Regions from separate parts of the Homo sapiens genome. Here regions 2 and 3 are each linked to region 1. The links are contacts of gene promoters, found by promoter capture Hi-C in blood cells and fetal thymus (Javierre and others, 2016). All regions are on one chromosome and are shown on one strand. The core of a region is centred on a gene start or on the middle of the fragment in contact, and the rest is flanking DNA. Distances in the headings are between cores, read along the strand shown. Region 1 holds the start of PIGO (phosphatidylinositol glycan anchor biosynthesis class O). Region 2 overlaps UNC13B (unc-13 homolog B). Region 3 has its middle 43 kb from the start of RUSC2.

Region 1 (3,473 bases), core at 974-3,473:
TAGGGTTTTTTTGTTTGTTTGTTTGAGACAGCGTCTCCCTCTGTTGTCCAGGCTGGAGTGCAATGGCATGATCTCGGCTCACTGCAACCTCCGCCTCCCGGGTTCAAGCAATTCTCCTGCCTCAGCCTCCTTAGTAGCTGGGATTACAGGCATGCGCCACCATACCTGGCTAATTTTTTTGTTTTTTGTAGAGACAGGGTTTCACCATGTTGGTCAGGCTGATCTCGAACTCCAGACCTCGTGATCTGCCCGCCTGAGCCTCCCAAAGTGCTGGGATTACAGGCGTGAGCCACTGTGCCCGGCCTATGAAGGGTTTTTTTCCCTTCCCATGAAGAATTTTAAGATAAAACATCACATTGGCCAGGCACAGTGACTCATACCTGTGATCCCAGCACTTTGGGAGGCTGAGGTGGGAGGATCACTTGAGCCCAGGAGTTGACCAGCCTGGGCAACATGGTAAGACCCTATCTCTACAAAAAAGAAAAAAATAACAGTAATCACATTAATGTTTTAGTTAGAGCTGTCTTGCTGCAATGTGGAGAAGGGATAGTAGGGAGACACAGGAGGCTGGGAGGACAGTGAGAAGGCTGCCTCAGTGATCCTGGAGAAGGGATGAGGTCTGAACTGAGATAAGGGGCTATGGGGATGAAGGTGGAAGAATAACTCAACTTTTTTTAAAAATTAACATATTCCTTTATTCGTTTGGTCAGTATGTGAACCTCAAATATATGCTAGGTGCTGAGGATATCATGAAGAAAACAGAATTCCCTGACCTCAATGAGCTCACATTCTACTCGGAGGGGATAAACCATAAATACGTGTAGAATTTCAGATGCTGATGAGTTGTGCTATGGAAGAAATTAAGGAAGTGAGGGGAAATTTTTCCAGGGGGTGTGGTGGTGGGAGGTGCTGAACTAGTAAAGTAGGGGATTGCAGGAAGCCTTGCTGATGTTACAGTTGAGCTTCAATATGAAGGTGATGGAGATCCATTTCGGCATCGGGAACTGAAGCTGACAGAGGAGATGGCAAATGCAAAGGTCCTGAGGCAGAACTGCTGTGGATGGAACAGAGTTAGGGAAGCAAAGAAGTGGCAGCTAGATGAATCAGAAGGGGAAGAGGCAGATAGTGTGCAGGGCCATGTAGAGCCAATGCAAGAACTTTTACTCTGAGATGAGAAACCAGTGGACGGGTTTTGTTTCTTTTTGAGACAGAGTCTTGCTCTGTTGCCTAGGCTGGAGTGCAGTAGCACGATCTCAGCTCACTGTAGCCTCTGCCTCCTGGCTTCAAGCAATTGTCCAGTCTCAGCCTCCTCAGTAGCTGGGACTACAGGTACACATCGCCACGCCTGGCTAAATTTTGTAATTTTTAGTAGAGTTGGGGTTTCAGCATGTTGGCCAGGCTGGTCTCCAATTCCTGACTTCAACTGATTCTCCAGCCTCAGCCTCCCAAAGTGCTGGGCTTACAGGTGTGAGTCATCGTGCCTGGCATTTTTTTTTTTTTTTTTGAGAGGGAGTCTTGCTCTGTTGCCCAGGCTGGAGTGCAGTGGTGCAATCTCGGCTCACTGCAACCTCTGCCTCCTGGGTTCGAGTGATTCTCCTGCCTCAGCCTCCCAGGTATCTGGGATCACAGGCGCCCGCCACCACTCCCGGGTAACTTTTGTATTTTCAGTAGAGACGGCGTTTCGTCATATTGGCCGGGCTGGTCTTGAACTCCTGACCTTAGGTGATCCACCTGCCTTGACCTCCCAAAGTGCTGGGATTACAGGTGTGAACCACTGGGCCCAGCCTCCCCTCCTCCACTCCGAAGGATTATTTGCTTAATTATTCAGTCGTAAGATTTAGTTACAGGCTTTGAAAGGAGGAGTAATGAAATCTCAGTTGGACTCAGCTAAGCAAAAAAGGGAAAATAAGTATTATCTCCATTTTACAGATGAGGTAATGCCTAATGATGACAATATGTGCGGCCAAGCTAGGATTCAAGTCAAGTTTGACTCCAGCAGCCGTGCTCTTAGTCGTAACCATGAATGGACAGTGGTTCCCTGAACTCTTCCTCCAGCTTGGTCCCCTGTCCCCAATTTTCAATTACTAAATATCCCATCAAACTGGGGCCAGCCCCACGCTCCTGGCCAAACTTCCACCGAGGTGCCGGCAGATGGCGATGGAGCCACCGACGGGCCACTCTGTCTGGCGCACGCATCTCTGTGCTGCCAGGTCGCAGGCGCCGCCGCCGCCGCACTTCCGGGTGCCATTGCAGGTGAGCCAGGGTCTCCCGAGAACCTCACCCCCCGGTATTCCCCTCACCCTGAAGTAAGGGAGTCTCCCTCTTCCCCTCAGCTCCTAACCAAGGTGCTCAGTACCGCGGCTAGGGTGCCCAGCGGGAGGCTGGGTAGTTACCGGAGGAGGCAGAGCCGGTCGCACGCCTGGGTCCCAGCGGAGGCCCAGTCGACTCTCGACCCGGGCCCCAGCCTCCTTGCGTGGCGAAGGTCGTGCCTCAGGTCTCCTGGCGAACCTGGCCGCCCGGAAGCGGAGAGTGACTCCTCCCCTTCGTCCCCTCGGTGCCCGCCAGGCGGCGCCGTCGGCTGGGCCCGGATTCCCCTGCGGCTTCGATCCCTTTCCACTGGGTATTGAGATTGGCGAGGGGAGAGGCGCAGAAACGGCGTGTAAGAGAGCCTGACTACCAATTGGAATAAGTTTCCCTCCTGACTGTTCACATGTACAGGCAGCATTAGCATTTCCTGCCTGTACATGTGAACGTTCCTATGCTCTACCCCTCGAAGATCCTGATTCAGTAGATCTGGGGTGGGACCTCATGAAACGGCGTCTCCCTCTGTTGTCCAGACTCTAGTGCAGTGGTTCAATCTCGGCTCACTGCAACCTCCGCCTCCCCGATTCAAGCGATTCTCCTGCGTCAGCCTCCCCAGTAGCTGAGACTACAGGTGCCCGCCACCCATTTTTGTATTTTTAGTAGGGACGGGGTTTCGCCATTTTGGCCAGGCTGGTCTCGAACTCCTCACCTCAGGTGATCCGCCCGCCTCGGCCTCCCAAAGTGCTGGGATTACAGGCGTGAGCCACCATGCCCAGCCTGGAAATAGGAGGAGAGTAATATTGCGAGGGGTTGGCTGTGAAATGGTTTATCTCCAGGAAGGTTTCCGGGAGGAAGTGATTCTAGCTGGGCTTGTATTCAGGGACCAGAATATCCACTGGTTCTTTGCCCCACAGTAATGAATTTACTTCCCCACCCCTATCAGGATGCAGAAAGCCTCAGTGTTGCTCTTCCTGGCCTGGGTCTGCTTCCTCTTCTACGCTGGCATTGCCCTCTTCACCAGTGGCTTCCTGCTCACCCGTTTGGAGCTCACCAACCATAGCAGCTGCCAAGAGCCCCCAGGCCCTGGGTCCCTGCCATGGGGGAGCCAAGGGAAACCTGGGGCCTGCTGGATGGCTTCCCGATTTTCGCGGGTTGTGTTGGTGCTGATA
Region 2 (3,747 bases), core at 1,064-3,563, 290 kb before region 1:
AGGTCCAATCTGGAGAAAAGGGGCCCAGGGGCCAGGGGCCAGTGGCAGGACAAGTGAGGGCAGAAGGGATCCCCATAGGCAAGATGGGCCTGGGGGCAGAAGATGCCCAGAAGGCAGGGAATTGAGAGGTAGAGACTCTCCAGGCAGAGGCTGGAAAGCAGGCGCAGGCTAAATAAGCTGGAGGAGAAAGGGCAAGTGGGGGTGGGCTATAAGAAGGCCCACTTCATTCACAGTGGACAGACACATACACACATGGTCTCTGGATCCCCTGGGGCTCCTATGGCAGTCCCAGTCCCAGAAGTCTCTCACTCCAGGGAAGCTGGCTCAATCTGGCCAGGGACCCCCATTATGTTTCCACACCTGTCTCCAGAAACAGTTACCCAGACAGATACAAGGGACAGAGGGACAGATGGATGGACAGGAAGAAGAGGTGGCACTGCAAACATACAGAGACAGGAAAGAAAGAGGTTGTTAGACAGATGGACAGACCAACCACCAACAGACAGGGCCAAAGAGGGTGATACTCACTGGTTCAGAACAGGTGTGTAGGAATTCTTATCTTCCTCTATGATTGACACGATGAGTGTGATGAGCTTGGGCCAGAAATCCAGGTTCCGAATGCTGGGCCCTTGTTCCTCTGGAGGTAGCTCCTGCTTCTTGATCCAGAGGACACAGTGAGAGAGAGGGAGAAAGAGTCAGAGTAGAATGTAGAGGGTGTCTCCAACGATCCTCTTTCTCTTCCCCTTCCTATACCTCTTCCTCTAGAATCAAGGACCTTTCCTCTCCTAGAGCCTGTCTTCCACAAGACTATCCCTGTTCTGTAAGAGTGACTATTGTGAGATCCCTGAACACAGGGAGCCTATCGCTGAGAAGTTCTCTCTGATAAACTTGGTCAGTCCAAGAGACATAAGGATGCCCATCCTCCTTCCTTCTCTCAGTTGCTATGGGCAGAGTAACTCGCTGGCTAAAGGAAACAGCCCCTCCAGCCTTACTAAATAGGTCTACTTCTATGCGGCCCCTACAGGCAGGCAGCCCTCCTCTTCTGGTGGTATTCCTCTACTGACAGCACACCACGACCACACACATACACATCTCAGCTCTGAGAAGCTCTTTCAACTTCTGCAGGAGCTACTGAACAGATCTGGTGCGCATTTCAGCCTTTCAGTGGAGTAGGACTTCCCTTGATCCCCTGAAGTTATTAGGGGGAAGAACTGCATCTAGGAAGCTATCTGCCTAACTAGATAAGATAGGGCCTTACTTGGGAAGAGGCAAGGGAATACAATGGTGACTTTCAGGTAAAGAGAAATCACTCTATATTCACAGCCCAGAAAAGTGAAGTAGGAGTCACCACAGGGAGGGTGGAACACACATTATCTCCCACTAAGTCAAAGGTGAAGGTGGAGCTGCCCAGAAGGACAGGAACAGGGCCTTTATGTGGGATGTCATATGTCACTGGAAAGCTTCCACAGTCCTTAATAAGCCTGCATTATCAAGAAGTTCCTAGAAACCAGGACAGAATCTTTAATATAACTTAAATACATCTCTTCCTTTTATTTTTCTGTCACTGTCCTGGCTCAGGCTCTTATCATTCAAGGATTTCTGAACTGGTCTTTGATCTTCAATCCAATCCCTCCTCCTTGCAGCTATCGTGATCTTTCTACAAAGAAAATCTCAATGTGTTACTCCTCTGCTTAAAGCCCTTCAACGGCGTTCAATACAGTTTAAATTCCTTAGTTTACACCTTCCAGAATATGACTCTCAACCTCATACCTTACAACTCTTTTTGTTCCAGCTATTACCACACCACCACCACTTATTTACTGCTTATTATGTGCCGCACACTCTGCTAAGACCTTTACACACATTATCCTATCTAATCCTCACAACAACTCCATTTAGTAGAAATTATTATCACCTTCATTTACAGATGAGGAGAGTGAAGGGCAGCAAGGTTACATGACTTGTCCAAAGTCATGCAGTTTTAAAGAGCAGAACTAAGATTTGATCCCAGATAGCTGAATCCCACAGCTGGATGCCGTAAGTACCCTAAATTGCTATACTTCTTTATCTTATTTTTATTTTGTCTTTTTTTTTGAGACGGAGTCTCACTCTGTCGCCCAGGCTGGAGTGCAGCAGCACGATCTCAGCTCACTGCAACCTCTGCCTCCTGGGTTCAAGCAATTCTCCTGCCTCAACTTCCCAAGTAGCTGGGATTCCAAGCACCCACCATCATGCCTGCCTAATTTTTGTATTTTTAGTAGAGACAGGGTTTCACCATATTGGCCAGGCTAGTTTCAAACTCCTGACCTCAAGTGATCCACCCGCCCCGGCTTCCCAAAGTGTTAGGATTACAGGCTTGAGCCATTGCGCCCGGCCTGCTTATATTTCTTTAAATTAACAAGCTCATACATAATTCTGTGCCTCCAAGCATTCTATTCTCTCTGTGGTATGCCCCTTCCCTCCAGCCCCTTTCTTTAGTTAATTCCTACTCCTTCCTCAAAATTCAGATTGAACTTTGCCTCTTCTGAGAGATTTTCCTGACATCCTTGGTCTGGGCTCCCACAGCACCCTCTGTGAACCTTTGGTGTAGATGTATCAGAAAACTACAACTACAATAAAACATAGTAACAACAAAATAACAACAACAAAAAAACAATAAATGTAGTAATTTGCCCTGACCTCCACTAAACCATGAGATCCCCAAAGGCTGAAATGTCTCTTACTCAACTTTATGTCTCTAATGCTCTGTTAAGTAAATGAATGGACGAATAAACCAATGACTGAAGGTCAACAGATGGAAATTTTAAAAGACATCAAGAGTTTATGCCAGTGTAAATATGGAATAAGGAAAAAATGAAATTGAGAGAAAGTAAAAAGCAGATACTAAAATACAAAGGCTAAAGAGTATCCCTGAATAGTTTATGAGAACAGTGTCTTTCCTCAACCAGAGACTTCATAGACAGATGACAGAGGAGCCTAGAATGTATCAAGTAAAACAAAGGCCTCAGGAAAACCTCCCATGGATTTCAGAATCAACAGGAGGCTTTAGAAACCTTAAAAGGAAGAAGCCTTAAATACATGGCTGGCACAGAAAGTACACTTGGGAATGAGAAGAGGCAGTAGGAACAAGATCTTAGTCTTTATGAGGGTGTTCCTAGGAAGCTTTACAAATTGGATGTAGTTACTTAAAGATAAATGTCCAAGACATTTAGGTTGTCCTGCCATCATTGGTTGTCCAAATCCCACTGCCTTTTAAGGTCTATCTCAAATGTTCCTTGTTTTATGTAGCTTTTCCTGGTATCTGATCAAGAGTGCGAAAAGACTCTTCCTCCTTGGAATTCCTTTAATCTTATCCCTTTTTCAAGGCCCTTCAAACAGACTCTTTTGATTAGAGTTATATATATGTTTATGAGACTGCAAACTTACTGAAGGAGCACTGTGCTCTCCTCAGACCTGGCCTAGAACAAACATTCAATATTTGTTGGACTGAAGGGAATCCACTCTGCAAATGTATGGTCAGCAAGAAACTCCTAAGATTGGAACTGTAATTGAGTAATTGGAGCTAGAAGTAAGTTCTGGCTTTCAAATAAGTTGGGAGCATGGATCGGGGACACTATTAGAAGGATCTGGGAAAATGTACTAAGTCACCAGGTACTGACTTAGGGTGCCAGGCTAAAACAGGTGAAGTAGCTCAGCCTCACAGAAGGATAGGGTCAGTCTTGATAGCCAGTGGATGAATACAACCCA
Region 3 (3,550 bases), core at 896-3,395, 350 kb before region 1:
TGGGACTAGAGCTGGAAATTACTAATTCGAGCTATGGCTCCAGAGAAAATGTAAGAGGTTTAGAAGAAACTGTAAGCAATAATTTCTCTGGCCTTTCACCATCTGACCATTATTCTAACATGTGTTCTGATAAAGGACAGAAAAAGGAATTTCATCAATGTTTACACATGGGGAGCTGGGACATCTCTGATATGTGGGCAAACAGTGGGAGTGCAGAGCATAAGCTATGACATTCTTTCCTCTTAAGCATTCCTTGAAGGGCTTCAAGATATGAGAAGTTTGGCTCATAGCCTGGAAGCTACAGGGACCATATCTTCTAAGGGTCCTTAGACTGACCTTACCCCAGGCTTCAGGAAGAAGGTAGAAATCATCACAGAACTTGGACATCATGTAGCAGGAACAGCAACTCAATTCCATGCAAACACCTCAAAATGCTTTTAGGTGGCATTAGTTCTCTGCTCAGAGCTTCCCAAAGATACTCACTACCATGTAACCAACCTTGGGAAAACTTAACTACATTTGTGCTGGTTGGCAGCCCCACTGTTATTGCTTTCAGGAAAAAAACCTTTCGCTGAAAAATGAGCTTTTATGAGTGGCAATTGTGTGTGAGTAGCTGCTGAAGTACATACAGTGAAGAAAGTAAGTCTAATTTAAGTCTTTTGAGTTTGGGAATTAGGTAGCCTAGTCATTGCCACTCTAGATCAAGAACCAATGAAGGAAGTTCCACCAGGGCCTCCCTAGACGCTTAAGCTTCTCCCTAGGGATTTGGTCTCATTACTTTTCACAGAAGCAAGGAGTCTAAAAGCCTCATGTCTAGGAGTAGATGCTCTAGAAGGGGAGCTCTGGGAATCTGAGTTGAATAATATTCACTGTGGTAAATCTTTCTTGATATTTCCTACTATGGTTGTTGTCACTGAGAGAATGGGGCAGCACAGAGGCTTCCTCCATTTTCCTGAACCACATCATAACCCAAGAAAATCTCTTACTAAATATAATGAATTGTGGTTCTAAATAACATCTCAAGAGGGGCCACTATTAATGATCCATATGTGACTTTTCTGTGGCATGAACTTTTTACATTATATTTTTCTCTATAATAAGCATTGTGTCCATCCTCTCTTCATGGGAATAGTTCATATGTATACTCTCCCCCTTCACATGGTAATTCTATCATACTTCCTCTGTATGTATACCCTCTCCTGTGTCCAGATCTTGTTAAAGAGACTCATGGATGCCCTGTGGTTTTGGAACACAATGCCTTCCTCTAACAAAGGTAGAACCGATATGTTGGAAGTTCATTGCTTGGAAACAGAAGGCACTTTTTTTCCCTAAGAAACAAGGTTTTTTCCCACAAATCTCCCATCCATCCATCCATCCATCCTTCTACCTGCCTATCTATCTCAAAACCATAGTGTTCTGAAATATATCTGAGTGTCATATCCACATCCTGAAAACTAAGTACCCATAGCTCAGCCATGAATGGAATTTAGCAGGCTGGGGGCCAAGGGAAACGTACCAGTGTAGATCACCAAGCCATAGCACCAATCTGTATTCCTGATGTTGCAGCCTCAGAGTAGCAGCTTGTCATGGTCCAGGAAGTAGTTTTTCCCCTTATAGGTCAGTATTCCTGAGAATTTGTCCAATTTGTTATTGGGAGCCTCACATCTCACTTCTCCTGCAGAAAAATGAAGGTGTAAGAGTTCTGGATCTCTAATCTTAGGCTTTTCCTAAGGATGAAAGGAGACTTAATAGAAAGGAGGAAATAAAATTCTTCTTTCAAAATACATACACATCTTTTTCCTATCCTCTCTCAGTTACTGCCCATTTCTCACCAGCTCCTTCAAGAAAGGCAGACAAAGGTTTCTGGGAACTAAAGAAGAATAATTCTGTATGTGACATGGATCATCCAGAGAGAGAGAAAACCCCACATGATGGTGACATCAGTACTGCCAGATCATAAGAGCTCTGAATCTGAAGAAACTCAAAAACGACTCAAAGCGAACCTAGTATTTTTTTTCAAAATGGAAACAACTTGACATTTTCCTGATTAGTAAAGTAAATATGCCCTTTGTAAATGTTTAAGTAATACTAAAATGGTAAAGAAGGAAGTAAAATTCATTCACTGTCTTGAGAAAAGTGCTATTTACCTTTTGAAGTACATCCTTCTATGTTTTTTCTATGTAAGTACTCATAAACATACCTATATTTCCAAAAACAGGTTTATGTTATATACACTATGCAGTCTTTTGTAAATTGTATTTTTCTTTTAATTACATGTTGTATTTTTTATATTTCAATAAATATCAACTTGCATATTGTTGTAATAAGTTGTATAGAAATCACTATGGATGTACCATACTTTATTTAACCAGTACTCTACTGATGAAAATTTAGGTAGGAAAACCCATTTCCTAACTCACCATTAAAGGTAGACAGAAGCTCCAGGCGATCTTCCATGTCACTGGTAACTGAGATGGCCTGCTTCACTTTCAGGTTGGTTTCACTAGAGTAAAAGACAAGTGACCACTGTACAGGACACAAACAGAACTGTTGTACGGGTGCAGTATCTCCTACTTTTTCATGGGGTTTTAGAAAATAGATGTTACCAGTAGAGACTGGGCTATGAGTCTGAGCTGTAAAAGTCACTCCCACTGCTTCTCTCTCAGTATTGAGGTGAGATGGCTCTTCAAGGAAGCTGAGTGTTAGCTCACTCACTCCCGTCTCTTTCCTCTCACTCTCTGCAACACACTGCCACTACTTAATCAACTCATGAGATCTAGCTGGTCAGGTGCTCTAGAGAGGCTGAAGAAACATCATAAACAACCTGGAGATAGTACCTGCTCCCTTCAAGAATAAGGAGTATGCCTGTAATCCCAGCACTTTGGGAGGCCGAGGTGGGCGGATCACGAGGTCAGGAGATCGAGACCATCCTGGCTAACACAGTGAAACCCTGTCTCTACTAAAAATACAAAAAATTAGCTGGGCGTGGTGGTGGGCGCCTGTAGTCTCAGCTACTAGGGAGGCTGAGGCAGGAGAATGGCATGAACCTGGGAGGCGGAGCTTGCAGTGAGCCGAGACTGCACCACTGTACTCCAGCCTGGGGAACAGAGCTAGACTCCATCTCAAAAAAAAAAAAAAAAAAAAAAAAAAAAAAGAATAAGGAGTATGGCCAGACATGGTTGCTCACGCCTGTGATCCTAGCAGTTTGGAAGGCCAAGGCGGGAGGATCACTTGAGCTCAGGAGTTCAAGGCCAGCCTGGACAACACAGCGAGACCCTGTCTCTATTTTTTTTAATTAAATTTAATTTTTTAAAAAAAGAATAAGGAGCAGATCCTGGTAAAAACTTGCACATACCTCCGAGGAAACATACTCCACACCTCATAAATATTTATGGGGCCCATGACAGGCTCTTAAGTAACTGCTTGCTGGAATGCATAGACAAAAAGAAAAATGGAATCCATGTTTCAAAAAATTGTGTGCATCAAGAAGTACAGTTGTAGGAATGAAGATCAATACAAAACTCTCCAGGATAAGCTTTCTGCAGATGGC

What was found. The method cuts DNA at HindIII sites, captures the fragments that hold promoters and counts their contacts. A CHiCAGO score of 5 or more calls a contact.
Region 2: a fragment that was not itself captured here is called in contact with the fragment with the promoter of PIGO in region 1 in 1 of 17 cell types (endothelial precursors); the score reaches 5.7 in endothelial precursors.
Region 3: a contact is called between a fragment that was not itself captured here and the fragment with the promoter of PIGO in region 1, in 1 of 17 cell types (endothelial precursors). The highest score is 7.6, in endothelial precursors.

What each region holds. Positions count from the first base shown.
Region 1 is chr9:35,095,341-35,098,813 of GRCh38, reverse strand. PIGO (phosphatidylinositol glycan anchor biosynthesis class O) reads left to right here and starts at 2,223. Exons shown (of 11, transcript NM_032634.4): 1 at 2,223-2,659; 2 at 3,248-3,473. The coding sequence starts at 3,249. PIGO-AS1 (PIGO antisense RNA 1) reads right to left here and starts at 2,510. Exons shown (of 2, transcript NR_186491.1): 1 at 2,394-2,510; 2 at 670-1,054. RefSeq lists an enhancer at 2,217-2,556. The HindIII fragment of the contact is 7,045 bases long and covers 1-3,473 here.
Region 2 is chr9:35,386,755-35,390,501 of GRCh38, reverse strand. UNC13B (unc-13 homolog B) reads right to left here. Exons shown (of 40, transcript NM_001371189.2): 25 at 529-656. Among named protein-coding and RNA genes, the nearest start is that of RUSC2, 100 kb to the left of the region's middle. The HindIII fragment of the contact is 1,702 bases long and covers 1,463-3,164 here.
Region 3 is chr9:35,445,358-35,448,907 of GRCh38, reverse strand. It overlaps the pseudogene ATP8B5P. Among named protein-coding and RNA genes, the nearest start is that of RUSC2, 43 kb to the left of the region's middle. The HindIII fragment of the contact is 2,785 bases long and covers 753-3,537 here.